Linked DNA regions of Homo sapiens: region 1 is linked to region 2. Evidence: promoter capture Hi-C in human tissues and cell types (Jung and others, 2019). All regions are on one chromosome and are shown on one strand. The core of a region is centred on a gene start or on the middle of the fragment in contact, and the rest is flanking DNA. Distances in the headings are between cores, read along the strand shown.

Region 1 (4,268 bases), core at 312-2,811, 390 kb after region 2:
TCACTTTTCTAGAATAGCAAACCACCATTAATTACCTTTCTGATAAACCACACTGCCTCCCCCTATCAAGTATCTGGGTGCTGATTCACAGCACAAATTGCAGCAAATTGTTCCAAAGTAGCAGCCTACCCCCAGGGAGGAAAGGGAGCCCTTTTTGACTGCCTAGACTAGATTTTGTCATTGTAAAATGAATAAATATGCATGGTAGCAGATGAAAATTGGAATAGAGGATACATAAAGTGAAAAATAAGTCTTTCTCTCACTCTGAACTTCCAGTTCTGCACTTTTCCTTTCCCATAATAACCATTGCATGTTTAGTTACTTGTGTGTTCTTCCAAAGCATCTATTTATATATAGGCATTTATATCTATCTGTGGTTTAACACAAAAATAGAAACATGCAGTACATACTCTTCTGCACCATGATTTTTTTTCACTTAATATTTTAAAGAACATTCTATATCAATACAAGTAGGTTTGTTACATTCTTTTTAATATTTTATTGAGGTATAATATACATAGAAGAATGTGAATATGTCAGATGTACAACTCAACTAATTAATTTTCACAGGCTGAGCACATCCATGTAACCAGCACCTGGATTGATAAATGGAAATTACCAGCACATCAGGCTTTTTTGTTTGTTTTGGTTTGTTTTGAGACAGCGTCTCACTTGTCACTCAGGCTGGAGTGCAGTGGCATGATCACGGCTCACTGCAGCCTCAACCTCCCAAGGCTGGTCTTGAGCTCCTGGGCTCAAGTGATCCTCCTGCCTTGGCCTCCCAAATTGCTGGGATTACAGGTGTGAACCACTGTGCCTGGCCAGCATATTCTTTTTAATGGCATTATGGTATTCCATGTAAATGAGTATTATTTAACAAATCTTTTATTAATAGATATTTAGGTTGTTTTCAGTCTTCTGCTTTTATGAATATTACTACAGTGAAATGCCTTATATATAGATCTCTGTACCTTGTACAAGTATATTTTTAGGATAAGTTACTGGAAATAGAATTGCTGGGTCAAAGAATATACATTTAAAATTTTGTGTATTGCAAAGTTGTCTTAAAAGAAGTTGTGTACCATTTTAAATGTCCTCCAACAATGTACAGAGTATAAATACATCAGATTGATTTCTAAAAGTTCCCCACAGGGGAGGTTAGATATTCTCATCTGCAGGGAGAGTACAGAGAAATAACAATCCTTTTTTGTGGTTAGCAATTACAAGGGCCTTTGCCTCCCTCATTGTGAATTTGCCCTTTCTGTTTACCCGTATTAGTTTCAAACTTTCTGTCTCTATCCCAGTGGGAGGATGGAAGATGGACAGTCTCTCTGGGTTTCTTCTTGATTCCAGGTAGCTGTGGACCCAGTCCTTAATTAGTTTGGTGGATACTGCCTAGGAAAAGAAATGATAGCCACTGTGTGAGGCCAACAGGTTGATCTTTGCACCTGCCTGGTTCCCAGAGAACCTGAGGTAAGGATGGCTTGAGCCTAGTTCTTTGGCTGCTGTGGATGTACTTGCTTGTCAGTGTCTGGACTGGCCAGGTCTGGGTTGGTATAGTAGCCCCTTCAGATAAAGGAGCTTTGGAGGGGTGAATTGGCCCACCCAGAAACAGAGGGGATCTGTGAATAGCTATTAGACCCCAAGTGGTATGGTAAGTCCTTTATAGGAAAATGAGAAAAAGGGTTTTACTACCTTTCTTGGGCTGAGGAGGAAGATAACCTGAGGTCATTGAACCAAGTAGTGCTTTCCAAATCAGTGCATCTGCCTTTTTAAAAATTAAGATATAATTCACATATAAAATTCACCATTTAAAGCAGGGGTTCCCAGCCCTGGGCAGGGACTGGTACCAGAACCGGGCTGCAGAGCAGGAGGTGAGCGGCAGGGGAACAAGTGAAACTTTGTTTGTGGGGTTTTTTTTGTTTTTTTTTTTGTTTGTTTATTTTTTTGAGACAGAGTCTTGCTCTGTCACCCAGGCTAGAATGTAGTGGTGTGATCTTGGCTCACTGCAATCTCTCCCGGATTCAGGTGATTCTCCTGCCTTAGCCTCCCAAGTAGCTGGGATTACAGGCACCTGTCATCACGCCTGGGTAACTTTTGTATTTTTAGTAGAGACAGGGTTTTGCCATGTTGGCCAGGCTGGGATCTAGGTTGTGTACTCCTTATGAGAATCTAATGCCTGATGATCTGTTACTGTCTCCCATCATACCCAGACAGGACTGTCTGGTTGCAGGGAAACAAGCTCAGGGTTCCCACTGATTCTACATTATGATAAGTTGATAAGTTGTGTAATTACTTCATTATATATTATGATATAATAGAAATAAAGTGCAGAATAAATGTAATGCACTTGAATCATTCTGAAACCATCCCCCCACCCCTGGTCTATGGAAAAATTGTCTAACACAAAACCGGTCCTTGGTGCCAAAAAGGTTGGAGACCACTGATTTAAAATGTGCAGTTGGCTGAGTGTGGTGGCCCACACTTGTAATCCTACCACTTGGGAGGCCTGGCACTTAGGAGGCCGAGGTCAGAGGATTGCTTGAGTCTAGACCAGCCTGGGCAGCATAGTGAGACCTCCCACATCTCTCTAAAAATAATAATAAATAAAAATAGAAAGCCAAAGTAAATTCAGTGGTTTTTATTATATTTAAAAGGCTGTGCAACTATTAACGTCATCTAATCCCAGGGCCTTTTCATTATCCCAGAAAGAAACCCCATTCCCGTTAGCAGTCACTCCCCCATTCCCTCCTTCCCTCCTTCCCCTCAGCCTTAGGCAGCCATCAACCTGCTTTCTCTAGGGACTTTCCTCTTCTGGAGATTTCATATACATCAAGTCACATAATATGTGGCCTTTTGTGTCTGTTTCTTTCACTTAGCATAATGTTTTTAAGGTTCACTCGTGTTGCAGTATATATCATCAGTACTTCTGTTTCTTTTTATGGCCAAATGATATTCCAGTGTATGGATATATTACATTTGTTTATTCCTTCATCAGTTGATGGGCATTTGAGTTGTTTCCATTCTTCAGCTATTAATAATGGTGCTATGAACCTCCATGTGCACATTTTTGTGTGGACATATGTTTTCATTTCTCGGTATATATAGCCAGGAATGGAATTGCTGGGTCATATGGTAACTGTTTTTTTTTTTTTTAATTGTAAAAAAAAAAAACATGAAATATACCATCTTAATCATTTTTAAGCATATAGTTCAGTAGAGTTCAGTATATTCACATTTTTGTAAAACCAATCTCTAGAACTTTTTCATTTTGCAGATCTGAAACTCTACTCATTAAACAATACGTCCCCTTTTTCTCCTCCCTTCATCCCTTGATAACCACCATTCTACTTCCTTTTTCTATGCATTTGGCTACTTTAGATACCTCATACAAGTAGAATCATAAAATACTTGGTGTTTTGGACTGGCTTATTTCATAATGTCCACAAGGTTTATCCATGTTGGAGCACGTGACAGTATTTACTTCCTTTTTTAAGGCTAAATAATATTTTATTTTGTGTGTATATCACATTTTGTTTATCCATTCACCTATTGATGGACATTTGAGTTATTTCTACCTCTTGTTATTGTGAATAATGCTGCTATGAAAATGGGTGTGCAAATATCTCTTTGAGACCGACCATGCATTCGATTCTATTTTTTGAGATGGAATCTCACTCTGTCGCGTGGGCTGGAGTGCAGTGGCGTGATCTCAGCTCACTGCAAGCTCTACCTCCCAGGTTCAGGCAATTCTGTCTCAGCCTACCGAGTGGCTGGGACTACAGGTGTACACCACCATGCCCGGCTAATTTTTGTATTTTTTTTTTTGGTAGAGACAGGGTTTCACCATATTGGTCAGGCTGGTCTCAAACTCCTGACCTCAGGTGATCCACTTGCCTCGGCCTCCCAAAGTGCTGGGATTACAGGCATGAGCCACCACACCTGGCCAATTCTTTTGGATGTATATCCAGTTACAGGATTGGTGGATCACATGGTTATTGTATTTTTAATTTTTTGAGGAATTCTCACGCTGTTTTCCATGGCGGTTGTACCATTTTACATTCTCGCCAACAGCGCTCAAGTCTTCCAATTTCTCACATTCTTGCCAACATTTGTTATTTTCTCTTTGTGTGAGTGTGTAGGTGTTTGACAGTAGCCATCTTGATGAGTGTGAGATAATACCTCACTGTGGTTTTGATTTGCTTTTTCTGGTGATTAGTGATGTTGAGCATCTTTTCACGTGCTCGTTGGCCATTTGTTTTATCATC
Region 2 (4,572 bases), core at 1,866-4,365:
TACACACTAAAGCTTGAGAAAACAGATCTAAGGTAAATCTATAAATAAGTGCAATGGTTTAAAATCACAGATTCAAGAAAGTGTTTACTTGTGGGGAGAAGGGGTTTTAGGAGGACCACACAGAGAACCTTGAATATACTTTTCATTTTGCCAGGCATTGTTCTAGGTATCCTTCATGCTCATTTAATCAACTTAAAGCCCAATTAATAAATATGCTTATGTTTTTAAGGTTGAGAAAATGGAAGCACAGAAATTCAAGTATTTTGTCCAGGATTACACAGCCAGTATAAGCCGAGCCAAGATTCCAACATAATTCACTGCCTCTGGAGTCCAAGGTGGTTTTTTGTTTGTTTGTTTTTTGTTTTGCTTTGTTTTGAGACAGGGTCTCATTCTGTCGCCTAGGCTGGAGCCCATTGGAGCCATCACAGCTCACTGCAGCCTGGATCTCCTGGCTCAAACGATCCTCCTGCCTCAGCCTCTTGAGTAACTCGGACTATGGGCACAGGCCACCATGCCCAGCTAAGTTTTAATTTTTTTTTTTTTTGAGACAGGGTCTTACTCTGTCACCCAGGCTGGAGTGGAGTGGTGCAATCTCAGCTCACTGCAACCTCCACCTCCTGGGCTCAAGTGATTCTCCTGCCTCAGCCTCCCAAGTACCTGGGATTACAGGCACGTGCCACCACACCTGGCTGATTTTTGTATTTTTAGTAGAGACGGGGTTTCACCATGTTGGCCAGGCTTGTCTTGAACTCCTGACCTCAAATGATCCACCCGCCTTGGTCTCCCAAAGTGTTGTGATTACAAGCATAAGCCACTGCTCTGGCCTAAATTTTTTGTAGAGATGGGATCTCACTATGTTGCCCAGGCTGGTCTTGAGCTCCTGCGATCAAGTGATCCTTCCACCTTGGCCTCCCAAAGTGCTGGGATTATGAGCATGAATCATGAGGCCAGCCCAGAGTCCAAGTTCTTTTCTTTTTTTTTTTTTTTTTTTGAGACAGAGTTTTGCTCTTCTTGCACAGGCTGGAGTGCAATGGCATGATCTTGGCTCACCACAACCTCCGCCTCCCTGGTTCAAGCGATTTTCCTGCCTCAGCCTCCCAAGTAGTTGGGATTATAGGCATGCGCCACCACACCCGACTAATTTTTTGTATTTTTAGTAGAGATGGGGTTTCTCCATGTTGGTCAGGCTGATCTCGAACTCCCGACCTCAGGTGATCCGCCCGCCTTGGCCTCCCAAAGTGCTGGGATTAATGGCGTGAGCCACCGCGCCCAGCCAAGTTATTAACCACTAAATTATACTTTTTTTTCTATCCCTAGTAATGTTCTATTTCTCAAACTGAGTGGAATAGACACACACATTAGATTTGTTATTTATACCTTACATATATATTACATATACCTTTTTTATTTATTAAAGACTTCACTTAAACATACAAAGGCTTTTACAAAGAGCAAAGTAAAAACGACAATTGGAAGAAAATCTGTTGCTCATTCAAACTTTACTAGCGCCTCCAAGGCTGACACTAGGAGAGAACCTCAAGAGGTCAGCCGAACACCCCAGAGCCCTACCTTTCCTCCAGCACGTCTCCCTTTGGGGAATCGTATCACCCTGGGCGGCAATCTCCCCTCCACCCCTAGAGGGTGCTGTTCTCACTCTCTAAGGCATAGGACCAAGTTTCAGACAGGACTCTCTCTAGGTGACTCTGGCTCCCAGTGCCCAGGGGCAAAAAGAAAAGCGCTGGGCATTATTCTCGAGGTGCCTGCGCGTGCCGCCTCCGATGTGAACTCGCAGTACCATTTCTAGAACTGAATCTAAAGCTCAGAACGGGTTCATGACTTGTCCTAAGTTTTACAAGTCAATTAGCGCTAGGACTTGATCTCGGTCCTCTGAGCAATCCGGTCCCCAAGGCTGCCTGCCTCCCGAGGGTCCGGACAGGGTCTTGGGTACCCCCAACGCTCAAACTCTGAGGGACTGTCTTTCTCCAGAGGGCCCCGGGACCAACAATCTCTTACTCCTGTTAGCCTTGACTAAATACAGCCGGGACTCTGAAGGAGCTGGATCTCGCGTCCCAACGCAGGCGTCCTCCAAGAGGGATAGACAGGCGGGAGGAAAGCGGACCAGGCCAAGCCCATGCGGCGCCGGTCCTGCCAGCTCTACCTGGCGGGGCCGCGCCGGGATTACCCACCTAGCACAAGGATACGGTCCTCGGGCCGCAGCTCCGGCTCTAGGAGGGCACGGAAGGAGGAGAAGTCCCCGAACCAATCGTAGGGGGCAGAATCGGCTGCGCCTTGGTAGCGCTGATCCCAGTACTCGACTTCGCGGTACCCGCAGTTCCGCTCCGGTAACTCCGGAGGCGCCCTACCTGCCCCTGGAGAGGCCATGCTCTCAACCGCCGGGCAGCCAGAGCCGCCGGCCCTTCAGCCAATACGGAAGGCAGGATGCAGAAGGCGGGGCGCTGGTGTCTCCGCCCACCACCTGCAGTTGCTCAACACAAACACGTGGAACTTCCGTCCTTTACTAAGCGCTCTTCGAAGAATCCTCCGGCTGGGAAAACTATCGTCCAGACCCTGAATCCTCCGGCTGTACTGCCAAGTCATTTCCTAGGGCCGCACTCAAGGTGTCAGACTCACGTGGGCTCATCACTGCGTCCTCTCATATTTTCAATATGAATGACTTTTATCAGGAAATCTGAAAATTAGTGAAAGGTTCATTTTTCTCAGCATCCGGAAGGCTCGAAGGGCAGGCAGGAGGGGCGCGAACAGGGGCTTTGCCCTCCTGGAGAGACAGCATGAACACAGATGTTCCCAGCGCAGGCGAAGGAGAATGCTGGCTTCAGCGGTTGTGGGGGAGGTAGGCAGGAATGTTGCTTTTCTGGACATTCGTTCTAAATTAGCGCCTGTGTACCCAGGGCTGGGTATAAACTGAGGAGTAAGACATTGTCCCTGCTCCTATGGAGCGTGGAGTGCATCAGAGGAGACAAATGCAGAAAAATTACATTTTAGTGGAGTAAATGAAGACTGGCTACTCGGATCGGCGCTTAGCCTGGTGGGACGCCAGGCACGGGAAGCGGAACCTAAGTGTCGAAGGTTCGGGTTTCCGGGGGTGGTGGGCCCACACAAGCGGCGCACCGTTAAGATGGCGGCTGGGCTGCGGAAACGCGGCCGGTCCGGTTCCGCGGCCCAGGCAGAGGGACTCTGCAAGCAATGGCTGCAGCGCGCCTGGCAAGAGCGGCGCCTGCTGCTGCGGGAGCCGCGCTACACGCTGCTGGTGGCCGCCTGCCTCTGCCTGGCGGAGGTGGGCATCACCTTCTGGGTCATTCACAGGGTGGCATGTGAGTGCGCCGAGGGGGAGGGGAGGGGAGGGAGGGAGACCTGAACCCGCGACCCAAACTGGATCTCAGACCTGGAACTCCAAACCAGACTCTGTATCCACTCACTCGTCAATTGCGAACCCATCCATATCCCTTACCTGAGCGCCAAGCCTGCTCTACAGAAAACCGGATCTTAATCTGCCCGCATGGCAGAGGTGGATACCCTAGAGATTGGCCTTCTGCACTGAACTTACAGCCTGCAAACCAGCTTAGAAGTCAGATTTGAGCCAAAATTGTTGTACTGCTGCTGCTGCTGCTTTTCTCTGTGGCTTTGGACACCTCAGGTCTCCTCCTGGATCTCAGCTTTTTCCATGTGTTCAGTTCTGTGATCTTTGAACGTCCCTTCTCAATGATGGCATCTTGTGACCACTTGAGTCCATTAGGCATTATTGGCTACTCCTTTCCAGGCTGAAACTATACTCTAGGCTTAAGGCACTTGGCTTTCTTGCTAAAGACTCTTAATTCAACAAATATTTATTTAGTGCTTATTATATGCCTAGCATTATGCTGGTTACCAGAGAGAGGTACAGTGGTGAATAAGAGATGCATTTCTGCCGGGCGCGGTGGCTCACGCCTGTAATCCCAGCACTTTGGGAGGCCGAGGCGGGCGGATCACGAGGTCAGGAGATCGAGGCCATCCTGGCTAACACGGTGAAACCCCGTCTCTACTGAAAAAAAAAAAAAAAAAAGAATTTAGCCGGGCATGGTGGCGGGCGCCTGTAGTCCCAGCTACTCGGGAGGCTGAGGCAGGAGAATGGCGTGAACCCGGGAGGCAGAGCTTTCAGTGAGCCGAGATCACGCCACTGCACTCCAGCCTGGGCGACAGAGCAAGACTCCGTCTCAAAAAAAAAAAAAGAAAAAGGATGCATTTCTAACTCGGGCCTGGACAGTAAGTTAGCAGGCAATTATAATGCATCATAATCATGGTAGTAGTAACACAGGATACCATAAAGGGCATAGGAAGTCACTTAAACCAGGTTGGAGGAGTCAGCAAAGGCTTCATAGAGCCACCCTTGGAAGGTAGGAATTAGCTATTTAAGGAAAGAAGAAAAAGGTGAGGGGAAGGAGTGCTGTGGACAGAGGATCCTCTATTAAAAATCTCCAGCTAGGCTGGGCGCAGCGGCACACGCCTGTAATCCCAGCACTTTGGTAGGCCTAGGCGGGTGGATCTCCTGAGGTCAGGAATTTGAGACCAGCCTGG

What was found. The method cuts DNA at HindIII sites, captures the fragments that hold promoters and counts their contacts. A contact is called where the count stands out against the background at its distance.
Region 1: a contact is called between a fragment that was not itself captured here and the fragment with the promoter of ALG3 in region 2, in 1 of the 25 tissues and cell types used here (hippocampus).

The regions. Positions count from the first base shown.
Region 1 is chr3:183,853,637-183,857,904 of GRCh38, reverse strand. All of the region lies in intron 4 of PARL (presenilin associated rhomboid like), which reads left to right. Among named protein-coding and RNA genes, the nearest start is that of PARL, 29 kb to the left of the region's middle. The HindIII fragment of the contact is 5,750 bases long and covers 1-4,268 here.
Region 2 is chr3:184,247,505-184,252,076 of GRCh38, reverse strand. It overlaps ALG3 (ALG3 alpha-1,3- mannosyltransferase), which reads left to right and starts at 3,115. Exons shown (of 9, transcript NM_005787.6): 1 at 3,115-3,332. The coding sequence starts at 3,137. EEF1AKMT4-ECE2 (EEF1AKMT4-ECE2 readthrough) reads right to left here and starts at 2,405. Exons shown (of 19, transcript NM_014693.4): 1 at 2,187-2,405. The coding sequence starts at 2,382. It overlaps EEF1AKMT4 (EEF1A lysine methyltransferase 4), which reads right to left and starts at 2,405. Exons shown (of 3, transcript NM_032331.4): 1 at 2,187-2,405. The coding sequence starts at 2,382. RefSeq lists enhancers at 2,519-2,628, 2,659-2,718, 2,799-2,848, 3,047-3,790, 3,791-4,534. The HindIII fragment of the contact is 15,241 bases long and covers 1-4,572 here.